Linked DNA regions of Homo sapiens: regions 1 and 3 are each linked to region 2. Evidence: promoter capture Hi-C in human tissues and cell types (Jung and others, 2019). All regions are on one chromosome and are shown on one strand. Each heading gives the region's core, a stretch centred on a gene start or on the middle of the fragment in contact. The rest is flanking DNA. Distances are from core to core; before and after follow the strand shown.

Region 1 (4,358 bases), core at 1,674-4,173, 1.4 Mb before region 2:
TTGTGGTAGGCAGAATAATGGTCTCCCAAAGATATCCATGACCTAATGCCTGGAACCTGTGAATATGTTATCTTAGATGGTAAAAGGGACTTGGAAGATGTAATTAAATTAAAGATCTTGAGATGAGGAGATTATTCTGGTAGGCACATTGTAATTACAAGGATCCTTAGGAAGGTAGTAGGGTCAGAGTCTGAGAAGGAGATGTGATGATAAAGCAGAGTCATGGGGGAAGATCTGAAGATTCTACCCTGCTCGGTTGAAGATGGAGAAAGGGGCCACAGGCCAAGAATGCAGGTGGTGGCCAGAGGCTGGTGAAAACAGGGAAACTGATTTTCCCCTAGAACCTCCAGAAGAAATGCAGCCCTGGTGACATCTTGATTCTAGCCCAGTGATACTTCTGACCTACAGAACTGTACAATAGTAAATTTATGTTGTTTTAAGCTGGTGATCTATGGCAAGTTGTTACAACAGCAATAAGAAACTGACATAGGAGTAGTAGGAGATAGAGAGAGGGTGTTGGATTAGGGCAGTCAGTTGAGAATTTTGGATTTTATCTTAAAGGCAACAAAGAACCACCAAAGATTTTTGACTAAAAACAGATATAGTAAAAATGATGTATTAGGAGGGTAGACTGGAAGTTGGGTTCAAATTGAAGACAGAAAGATAAGCTCTACAGTAGTGTGCATGGATAAGTATGGTGATGAGTCCCCAGGTTACAAACGGACTCTGAATTGATGAGAAGTTTCCAAATCTGAAAGAGATTGCTAAAGAAGAGCCTACAGAATATAATGACTGATGGGAAAGCAGTCCAATTTCAGATCCCTCATGTGTTGCGAAATGGGCATAAATATAGTGCACACAAGGTTTCTAAATATTTTAAGTCTCTTCCTGGATTCACCAATGTATATTTCACCAACATATATATGAAATTGTAACTTGTTAAACTTCTCTGTTACTTCAAGTTTCACTCTTGTCTTTTTAGAGGATACGCAAACCTCATTTCATCATTTCTACTCTAGAGACTGCTTATTTGGTAGAATGAAAAAGTACAACTTGGATAGTAAACTACTGTATTCAGATTTTGCACAAAAACAACAAAATACAATCTAAAAAAATTTGAGTTGGAGAAGAATCATAGGTCAAATATGTGTAAAAAGTAGTGGCAGTAGCTGGTAAGTTAAACCACTCACCGGCTATAATGCTGTTCAGCAGTTACCACTGTTTGGATTATTGGACATTTCCTGAGTAGTGGGAAATGTTTGGATGAAAAGCCAGTAGCTAATTATTAACTCTCTTTACATTACCTCCCTTCTGAAAAAAGCTCTGCTTGCTGATAATCAACTTCTAAATCATCTTCATAAAACTTAACAATGCTTGGCCATCTAAGGCAGGTCTAAACTAGCTGGCTCTACCCTGTTTTTAGTGGTAAAAATGCTAAATTAACTAGTACTAATAACCATGCCAGCAGTAAAAACACTGAACAATTGAATATCAATGATATGTTAAAGCCAGCTGTTAATTAACCCATTAATAAGGTGATTTTCTTTCACACAGAGATTCTATCGATACACTTTCCCCCCACCTTCTTCCATTTTTCACCATTTCAACTTTCCCCCACCCCAATCAGTAACTGGTAAAAAAGATCTGACCATGAGTTCATTATTGGGAAAATCTTACAAAATGCTATATTTCAAGCTTTTTCTAAATTGGATACAACTTTGCATTTCCACTATGTTTTTAAGTCCCCTCCTTAAAAATACACATTTATGTACAAATAACAATACTATATTTTGCATCTTAAAAGTAGACTGCCCTGTGATATTTACAGAGAAAATGTTCACCATTCCTTTCTACGTTTCAAAATATCCCTCCTCTTGGGTGCTGACATAGAAACATCATTTTGGAACAAGTGGCAGTTTCGTCTTGCATCCCTGCCTTTTCTTGTTCTGCATGGGAAAAAAGCCTAAATAGTAGACAGCAAGAAAATTCAATAATGTCCACTCTGGAACAACCCGAGGGTAGGAATTTTGCATATGTATCAGGCGCCCTATAAGCATCACCCTCCCATCCCATGCCATAAAAAAGGGTGGAGGGGAGGAAATATTCAGCAAAGTCCTAATATACAATGTGTATTGTAAAAACAACTTTAATTTTAAAAGTGAATTCTACCTTCTAAGGTTTTCAGTGCTGCCTCACTCCTACTCCTAGGGTGAAGGACTTTGGAGAGACACGAAAACTAATTCATATCAAAACCAGAACGCGAAACTCCTGCCTGCCCCGTAGCCTGGCCTGAGTACCTGGAATGCCCGAAAGTGGATGGGCGCTCTCTCTTCCTATCTGGCCCATGGCTCTGAGGACCTCCCTCCCCGCTCCAAGCCCCAAGCCCGCGAGCAGGAGATGCTCAGAGAAAAGCGAGTCGCTCACCAGTGAGGAGCCAGCAGCAGGCGACAGCGACCCCTGGGCGGGCGCGGGGCCGAGGGGCCATGGCCGGAGCAGCCTCAGCGCCAGGGGGCCGCGCTGGTTCGCAGGGCAGGACCGGGCGCGGGAGCTGCGCTCTCTGGCTGGGCCACTTATCCCGCTGCCGCGGTTCCCAGTCCTCTGCCCCAGTGGCAGCGGCGCCCAGGAGCGGGAGAGGAGTGATTTCCTGTGTTTTCGTCGAATTCCTCTAAATGCGCTCCACGCTTTTCACATCCCAGACGGATTGCCACATCGCCCGCCCCTTCGCGCTCTTGGTCTCTGAAATCTCACTGGCAGCTTCCCAGGCTCTGTCCGAGACATGGACAAATAAAGCCAGCTTCGCGGGTCCGTGTTTAGGCTAAAGTCCACGGGCTGTAGAAGCAAACCTTAAAGGGACATCTGCCTTTCATTGAGAGGGTGATCTCGTTCTCCGGGCCAAATCCCCTAAGGTGGTAGGAAGGCGGGTAAGGGCTGGACCTTCGGGAGGGTGTTGCCAGCCCAGTGGCTCCGCCTTCACACCCCTTACTTCTCCCGGCCCGGGCAGGGAGGGCGCTTTGACAGTGCCTGGGCGCCCTTAACGGGAGGCAGCTTTCCCGGGTCCATTGCGCAGAGGGATTAGGCCGTCTGTGAAAATGCGAGGATCTGGAATCCCCCCTTCCATCCCCTGCGGACACTTGAAATTCACCGTGAAGTCGTTTTGCACGAAAGGGGGCGTCCCCACCACCCCGACAGGCTCCACTGAGGGCTTTGCTTTCGCTTATGGGGGGGTGGGGGGGTTGCTTCGTTTATGGTAATTCGTGGTTAAAGGGTGGTTGCAGATAAGCTTTTCTTTGAGATAACTAGGATAAGGGGAGAAAAGGAGAAGCAAGACGGAGGAAAAACAGTAAGAGGGAGAGCGAGAAGGGAAGAGAGGAAGAAAAGCAGCCTCCTTGGAAATGGAATGTGTGTGGGCTATTTTGTTTAAGTGAATTAGGATGTTTGTACGCTGGTAATTGAATCTAATAAAGAACTCGGGGCACTACTTTATTTTTTTCTTGCTTGAAACTTTCACGAGTGAAAATGCATTAAGAGTCCAGAAGTGCTTAGGAACTTGCAATGCTTCCCTTTCCTGGTGAGTTGAACAACCTCTCTGAGTCAAAAGCCATATTCACCCTAGCTTCAACCAATGCTGGCTATTTTCAAAATAGCTGTGTCTTAGCGGTTTTGAGAATTTCAAAGACAGAAAGAATAAGTGGATTTGTGTTTAGAGGAATCTGAGGGAAACAGTTCAATTCAATTCTTCAACTCAACAACTAATTGAGCATCTCTAGCAGAACTAGGGCTAGGCAGGACAAGAGTGCCACCCAAAGGAGGGTTCGTTGAGCAGAACGCAACACAGGTAGCACAGAACAGGTAACACGAGGGACAGGAAGGAAGAAGCCCACAGGGTTCACTGGATACATTGCCAGATAGAGGATCACAGCAACTAAAAGCTGGAGAAGACAAAAGTTGAAGAAGTTTAAGGAGCGTCAAAAATGGGGTGGGCAGACCCAAGGAGGTTGAAGGCCATCAGATCTCAGTATGTTGACCCATTAATCAAGAAATTCCTTTTCTATTATGTATCTGAACTGATTCACTATTTAGTAAATACATTAAAAATCTCGTTCTCCCGTTTTTAGTTTTTATAATGTCATTTCTCAGTTCTGTCTTCAAATTTACACAAATGAGTCTCTAGAAAAATTGTATTATGTTGGGTCACAGTTCAATCCCATTGGACTTTACTTAAGTTCCTTTGTTTGTGTTCAATGCTCTCATACCCTGCCAAGGAATTCATTTCCTGTGTATATCTCGTTTCCCTGTTGGTAGTATCAGTTATGTCTTATGCCTCTCAGTATGACTCTCTGTGCTTTGAACAGTAACCA
Region 2 (3,992 bases), core at 1,405-3,904:
GGGTGAAGACTTGACTTTGGCGGTGACCAAACAATTTAGAAAATCCCTCCCCCTTCCTGTACCCCGACTTCCCTTACTTCCTTTCACTCCCTCTCCGAAGTATTAACCTCCCCCAACCAGGTTAATTTTATCTACCAAGATTATACTCTCTGTGTCATGATTTTTAAAAAAGAAGAAAAAAATGCTGGATACTAAGTGAGCAGGAGCAAACTGTGACTGTATATTAAATCTTAACTAAACTTTAATAAAAGTTCTCAAGCTCCAGAAACCATTTGCCTAACAAAAGCTAATTAATTACTTGTTAATAGCCACCGGACATTTAAAAAGTGATATTTTGCTATTATTTAACATAATAATGATGCTGATGTCTCTTCTGTTTGTTAATAAAATGAATACAATTTTCTTTAGAGACTACTGGCTTTCTAAGGCAGAAAACAAAGTTTCTGATACATACACACAAGTCAGAGGAAACTTGAGATTAGCAAAACGTGTTGCAGAATAAATTGGAGGAAAAAAAAAACAAAAACTCTCCAAAACAACAAAACCAAACTCAGAAAGTTCCTATGTTGTTTCAGTCTTGTCAATTTGGACAATTCGCTCATTTTATCAGTTACCAGATTTTAATGTGAGAAAGGAAGCTGTTCAATTATCTAAATATACCAATTGTTCGTAGACAGATGATGGGCAATTTGATCTGCTCTAATTCATCAGCTCAGATAAGATAAGAAAGAAGAGACAGTTAGATGTCACCAAAGGGTTAATATTTAAAAAGATTAAGTTTCCGGTGTTTTTTCCAAGGAATATTTAGGTTGGTTTTAAATTTTTCTCAGAAGGAGGTCTTACCCCAAAAATAAAAGGAGCAATACCTGTACTCGCTCTTTCAAAGTACATCTCTAAACATGCTTCGGTCAAACTTTTATTTCACCTATTGCATTGATGCCACCAAAGAATTTGTAAGCTACTAATTTTAAAAAGGACTAAAACAAACAGAACACTGCACTATACAACAAAAATCAACCCTATTTTAAAGCTAAAAATCCAAACTTCTCCATCTTTTTAAAATTTTGTTTTGTAAGGGGGAGGGTGAAAGAGGAAAATAATTTGTGCATCATAAACTCCAAGAGTAATTAAACAAGCCTCAATACCCCGGAATTATGAATACCACTGTTAAGGGTTTTTGTTTTTCTCAACTAAAGAATGAAATGAACAGCATAGCTTGATTTTTTTAACACATGTACAGGGTAACTTTGGCTTGTATGACTACACTGAGGCAAACTTCACAAAAAGACAAAGCCACACCAAATAATACATAAAGAGTGGGGAGATTCAGGGAAATCCCACAAAATTAAGAAAGAAGTGTAAATGCCATACCTGATATAATCTCTTTTACAGTAGGTTTTCCCATCCCTAACAAAGCATGTACAGCTCTCGTCCAAATACTGATTACACTCCGCACATTTCAAACATGCCGCATGCCATTCCAAATCCGGAGAAACCCTCAGAATATACTGATCGTGAATCTGATTGCCGCAACCAACACATAGGGAAATCAGACGTTTTTCTGAAATGAAAATAAATACATGATTGACTAACCGTTTACTTCCTACAGAGATAAACACACTTTTAGTGTCGTTCTCTTATAGGGCGTACTCTGGGAGGTTTTTTTCTTTCTTTCTTTCTTTCTTTTTTTTTTTTTTTAGAGCATTGCACTTTGGGATGGTAATTGAAATGTGCCATCAAAACCTTGACTCATTTTTAAAAGGAGGTGGAATATATGTAAAATGCAGATTGGAATAGTCTACATTTGTACGCCTAGCACGCAATCAAACCCGCTCATTTTGTATTTCTCCCCCCCCCCTTCCTCTTTGCTATAATCATTGGGAAAGATTATGGATAAGTCAAGTCAAAGAAAAGGTTTTGACTAGAAGCGTTAAGTGAACGCAGGGATGTCTATATTTTCCGTGAAGCGCGCTCTTAAATAGCACACAGGACTGGATATTGTTAGCAAGAGCAGGCATAAATACAGTTGTCACTCGTTCTCTTTTGCAAGTCTAATGCTAATTCACATCTCTGGGCATTGACTGTGCAGGCAGACCTTTGCAACATAATAACCTTCTCGGAGAGCTCAGGATTCCCCAGGAGGAAATCACCGCTTAGCACCAGAAAGCTAGAGCTTTGGAGGGCACACAGGCGAATTCACACACAAGGTACAATCAGTTTCCCGAAGATAAGAACCGACAGTAAGCATGCAGGCGTGGCGGCAACAAGAAAAAGCCACCTTTTCTCTTTCTCCAGGCAATGACTCCAACTCCAAAGAGCCCTTGGCACCTCAGCCTGTGCCTGAGAGAGAACCCCGCACAAGAACAGCACACCGAGCCCCACAAGGTAAAATAGCCTCTTACTTTTTGGTGGATCTCCCATGTCTCCCATATCTGTAAGAGGGAGTAATGTCCACAGTGAAATGGTGGTTGTACAGTTGGTGAACAGCCCACAGAGAGGATGCTGGAGCTGTGGCTAAGTGGGAAATATTGGCCCCTGGGGTTGCCAATGCTGAAAGAGCCGCTGCTCGGCTGCGCCGCGCCCTCGCGGATCTAGGAGTCCAATTTAAGCCGGCGGAGTTGGCGGAGCGGAGGCGCTGCGGCGGCGGCAGACTCGGCGCGGCTCGGGCACCTCTCTTCCTTATCTCTTACTCAAACTTCTCTGCTCCAACTCAGCTCCATCGCCATTGGTCTGACGCAGCGCGCGGGGACGTCAGGCGAGCGCCGCGCCCATTGGCTGCAGGGCGCGCGGCGCAGCTGTTCTGATTATCATATTTCAGCCTCGCCGCCGCTGAGCGCCACTGACCGCTCGGCGAGCCAGCGGGAGAGGATTAGGGCTCCCGAGGCAACTTGCTCGGGGCTCAGGCCGTTCTCCCCCGAAGCTCGGGCTGCCGGGCTGTTCTGGCTCTGGCCTCCCTCTCCTCCTCTTCCTCTTCCTTCTGTCCCCTCCCGCGTTCCTTCCCGGCCGCGCCGCCTGCGCCCTCGCCTCCTGTGGCGCTGCTCCTCCGCCCTGCGCTCCTGGGGTCCCCGCAGTCCGGCTGGCCGCGTTGCGCGCGGGGCTCACTTTCTGCCGCCGGTGGCGAGTGGCTGGTGGGTAGGTCTACCTGTTGACGAGGTCCCTCCCGGGCTCTAGGAAAAGGGGGGAACTTGGAGCAGGCCGTTCAGCTTGGTTTGGTCCCCACGCCGTGGTGCACATCCCCGGGGCCTGGCCTGCCTTGGCTGCTCCGGAGGGCTAGTTCCTCCAGAACTGGCTGCGCTCGGCGCGCTAGGGGAAGAAGAATCGGGAATGGGATGATTAAACCCAGAGGAACTGTTTCCTGACTGCTACACCATTACTCCGTCTCCCCCAACCTCAGATATCTAAAAACGTTGGGTGGGAGGAAAGGGGCGCTTCTTGCTGTTGGGACAATCAGGTTGGAACGCACCGGTAAACCGAAGTTGACTCCGCGGACTGACTTTTTGTCTTTCAGACCCGCGAGGTCTGCTTCTCAGTTTAACTCTAGAATTGAAGCTCACTAACCCGAAGCCAAAGAGCGAAATGATCTTTCAGTAGTCTAAAGTTTGTAAGATTTTTATATACTGTTCAATTCTTCTCACTGCTGGTCTCCTGCCCTTTGTTTTTAAGCAAACTTGTGCAACTAGCTGTGGTATTTTGGTAATTATAAGGACAAGTCTCCATGACTTTGTGGAGATTTTTTAAAAATGCATTAGTCTAAGGGCGCGAGTAGGGAGGGATTTATTACAGAACAGTGAAAGACCTATTTCACGTCCCCAGGCGTTAATATATAATTTTCTCTCGAGAAACTACTTGGAGAGAGAAGACTGTTAGGTGCAACTCGCCGGTAACCTTCTTCAATCATTCTTACATGTTCCCATCATCTGTTACGGTCTCCCAAAGACAGTCACAGGAAGGCCACGAAGAACCCCCGCGCTTCCCCCAAAGCTTCTAAAAAG
Region 3 (3,880 bases), core at 285-2,784, 1.2 Mb before region 2:
TACTTTTCTTTGCATTCCCATTGCTGTTCTTTAATGCTTTCCTCTCCTAGATTACTTTTTGTGTGTCTTGGTGTTTCCTTTCTTCAAAATATACCTGGAGATCATTTTCCTGAGTTCTTACCTGCTCAAACAGGCCTTTATATTTTTATTAAACTTGGCTAATAACTTATCTCTTAAAGTATAAAATTTTTGATTCAAATTCCTTGGGTGAAAATTATCATTTGAGATAATACAATGAGTTTACTCTGAAAGTAAATATACACACACCTTTCCAAACATAGAAGTGATATGCATGTGTATGTGTGTGTATATATATAGTAGTGTGTACAATAAAAAAATCCAAACAAAGATGGACATTTCAACAGGACAGAAACTCAGAAAAGGTGGCGACAGCCAGAGGTGGTAAATTCATCATTGGAAAATGAAGGACATGTAAATACCCTAGAGAAGATATTGAACATGAGCTATTTTCATTGCTTGAAGCCTTTGACTGAATCAGAGCTGTCACTCCTATGAGAAAAGACTTAAAGAATAAGCTTGAGCATTTAGAGGGCTTCAGTTAATATGGTTGCTTAGTTGCTGCCTGGACTGCCAGGAGAAGACAGAGAGAGCCTCTCAACAAGAAGCTAGAGTAAGCCAACTGCAGTATGATTTGAAAAACTCAGTATTCCCCCAGGAAGAGTAATCATGACCATATAAGTCACTTTTCTGATGGGAGCCCTTGGGAATTGTGTGGAAACCATAAAAACCCTGCTATTCTCTCTTGAGAGAAAAAATCATAATGCTGAAGAAAAGCTTTAAGACGAAACTATCACAGTAAATGAGAAAATGATATGCCAACCAACAAACTCAAGTCACTAAAATAATAGTTGCTTAGAAAAAGCAAGTCATCGGGCAAGCTAAAAAATTAATAAAAGATTTCAAGTAGTTGGAACTGGAGCTCTGCAGGGCCAGATCCCCAGCTGCAGGGCCTAGAGGCAGTGGTGATACTAGCAATGGTGGTGGTAGTCTCCTGATGGAGCAGCCAGGCCCAGATCATGCTGTGCTGGTTCACCACCGTCATCCTGTTGGCTGCCTTCCCAGGGCTGGGAATGAGTGTTGCTTTACTGGGACCCACATTTCAATATTTTGCCACAAGTTTGAACCAAAATATTAGTCATCTTCCTTTAATTTTTGTGGGCCCTACCTTTGAGTGGCTCTGTGATTGGTGGAGTTCTTTTTGACATCATGATTTTTTTTTTTTTTTTTTTTTTTTTTTACTTTTGAAAGTGTCAGTGTTGGCTACCACAGTTTGTCTTTATCTTGTTTATTTTTTCAAGACAGCTCTATTACTGATTGTCATGATGTCTATCTTTGGTACTTCAATTTGCATTCTGGATACAGGTGGTGATGTCCCTATCTTGGCTGTTTGAAGAACATAGGATCTCCACATATGTAGGCATATTACACTTCTGTTTTGCCTTGGGTGCCTTTTTGGCTCCACTGCTAGCTAAACTGGCATTGGGTACGAGAGTGTCTGTGAAAACCACGCAGTCTGACTTTCACCATCCTGCACTGACGCTGACTCAGAATCTCTGTTTGGAGGACCTGAAGTTATGTGTTTACTGTGGTCTTATGCTCTGAACAGTACTTATATTTTTGTAGGTCCTATCTTTGTTTTTGCTCTGTTTTTAAAGATAAGCTCAAGGTGAGGAAAAGCAAAAGCATCTGCTCAGACATCTCAAAGAACTAAATATCACAATGCCATTTTTTGTCTCCTTTTTCTGTTCTTCATTTCTTATGTTGGAGCTGAGGTAACATATAGCTCCTACATTTTCTCATGTGCAGCCATTCACGCTATTGTGAAATAAAGTGAGGCTACTGGGTTGAACTCCATCTTCTGGGGGACCTTTATGTCCTTCAGGGGACTGGTAATGTTTTTTGCTACATTTTACATCCTGGAACCATGATTGTGTCAAGCAAGATTGGCAGCCTGCCTTCATCTTTATATCTTGTGCTTTTTGGCAAGAGCCTGGTTTGTCTTTGTATAGTAATTCCAGTGTATGGGGCCCTGATGGAAACTACATTTTCCAGTGGTGCTTCTTAGATTGCACAGTACATGATCACACATGAGAAATTTGCAGCATTTTTTGTAATCAGTGCTGTCCTAGAAGAAGTGGCTACTTCTGTAGAAATTGGATTTTTTCCAAAGAAAATACCCTGATTTGCCTGTAGTTCTGTATACATCTGTTTGGGCGTATTGATAGCCACTGGTGTTTTATTTCCTGGGATGTATGAATTAGCCACTTCACCTCTTAATCACCAGAGAAAAGTAAACAGAAAGAGTGAGGTCCAGATACTTTTGCTCTCCAGGTCTGGGCTAAATGACTATGAGGAAGAGAAATGAAGAGGAAGATGCAGAAAAATTGAATGAAATCCATTTTGAAGTGACTGAAATGAATGATAAAATGAAACATTCTAATAGGTACATCTAGAGATATTTTGATAGAGGCCACAGCTGAAGTCTCTGACCAATCCCTCTCAAACGTTTTGGTGTTTGAGTCCTCCTTGGTTAATACTGGCAACTCCCCTGTGAGGCACTTGTCAGAAACCGGGATAACAGGAACTGTTAGTTAGAGAAGATGGATTACTCATTGACATCCTTGAATAATCACCACTTCTAATGAGGCCATTCGGAGGAGAGCATTAGCAGCTTTTCAAATGCTTTGGGGATCAAAATTTCTAGATCCAATGATAGCAAAAGCTAAAAAATTGTAAAATGTTCCATAATTCCCAGAGTCTTCCATAAATAACCAAATGGTGTCATACATGTACAATAGGATCTTGTTATTAGGCTAGTGTTTGGCATGTGGCTGATTAGGAAATATTTTATGGTCTTCATCTCTCAGAGCATGCAAATAAGGCATTTGTTTTTGAGAAGCTGGGTATTGTTTTCATAAGTCACTTATTGAGGGGTAATTCTTGTGTAAGATAAAGGAGAGAGTAAGCAATAGTAATCAGTGCAAACCTTCAGATACAGGTCTATGAAAGAGGAGGGGGCAGGAAGAAGGACTGTATAGAAAGTGTCTTAAACTGAGGTATAGCTGGTATTATGTCTCAGCAAACCTAATAGGAAATTCTAGCATAAAATTGCCTGTAGAGGAGTCCTGTTATGATCAGAAATGGTTACACAATAGATGCCCCATGTTGCCTATTCATTGGTTATGAGCTTTCCAGGAAGAACACCAAATCCTAAAGATACCTGCAGGCAGAGAGGTTCAGCTCATTGCACATCCTGCAACAAATTCCCTCTTAAAGACGGAGCAGATTATATACAGAAAATATGAACGCAAACAAGTAGAAATTAAATAAGTTTATATGCATTTGAAATTAATCAATATGTAATCCTAAATATGAAAAATATAGCATTTTAAATAATATAAACAAGTGAAAGAGACTCTCTAGATTGGATGCAGGTGAATAAAGAATATGTAACTAGAAAAGGTATTGCATAATTAACCACGTAAAAATGTATAAAAATACATTAGAAAATAAGAAAAAACTTACCAAGTTTCCACCTAGAGATGATAAAAAGTAGAGCCAATGGAACCAAAGACGTTGAAAATAATAAAGATAATAATAGAAATCAATGAATTTTAAAACAGGAAAATAACAAAGAAAATCAATAAAAATAAAAAGCTGGTTAGTCACTAAAATCACTAAAATTGATAAACTACTAGCAAGGCTGAAAGAAAAAGAGATAAAATACAGATCATCAATATTAGGAATGAGACAAAAGATATCACTACAGATTCCTTTCCATAAGGAAAAATGGGAATATTAGCAAGAACTTTATCCTCATAAATTCAACAACTTAGAAGAAATGGACCAATTTCTTGAA

The links. The method cuts DNA at HindIII sites, captures the fragments that hold promoters and counts their contacts. A contact is called where the count stands out against the background at its distance.
Region 1: a contact is called between the fragment with the promoter of ITGA1 here and the fragment with the promoter of ISL1 in region 2, in 1 of the 25 tissues and cell types used here (pancreas).
Region 3: a fragment that was not itself captured here is called in contact with the fragment with the promoter of ISL1 in region 2 in 1 of the 25 tissues and cell types used here (H1 embryonic stem cells).

What each region holds. Positions count from the first base shown.
Region 1 is chr5:52,786,481-52,790,838 of GRCh38, reverse strand. It overlaps ITGA1 (integrin subunit alpha 1), which reads right to left and starts at 2,923. Exons shown (of 29, transcript NM_181501.2): 1 at 2,425-2,923. The coding sequence starts at 2,485. It overlaps PELO (pelota mRNA surveillance and ribosome rescue factor), which reads right to left and starts at 2,923. Exons shown (of 3, transcript NM_015946.5): 1 at 2,425-2,923. All of the region lies in intron 1 of PELO-AS1 (PELO antisense RNA 1), which reads left to right. RefSeq lists an enhancer at 2,956-3,235. The HindIII fragment of the contact is 9,565 bases long and covers 1-4,358 here.
Region 2 is chr5:51,382,110-51,386,101 of GRCh38, reverse strand. It overlaps ISL1 (ISL LIM homeobox 1), which reads right to left and starts at 2,654. Exons shown (of 6, transcript NM_002202.3): 1 at 2,403-2,654; 2 at 1,372-1,561. The coding sequence starts at 2,430. It overlaps ISL1-DT (ISL1 divergent transcript), which reads left to right and starts at 2,770. Exons shown (of 2, transcript NR_046243.1): 1 at 2,770-3,128. RefSeq lists enhancers at 417-600, 417-945. The HindIII fragment of the contact is 8,696 bases long and covers 1-3,992 here.
Region 3 is chr5:52,578,288-52,582,167 of GRCh38, reverse strand. It overlaps the pseudogene SLC60A2P1. Among named protein-coding and RNA genes, the nearest start is that of ITGA1, 210 kb to the left of the region's middle. The HindIII fragment of the contact is 3,028 bases long and covers 21-3,048 here.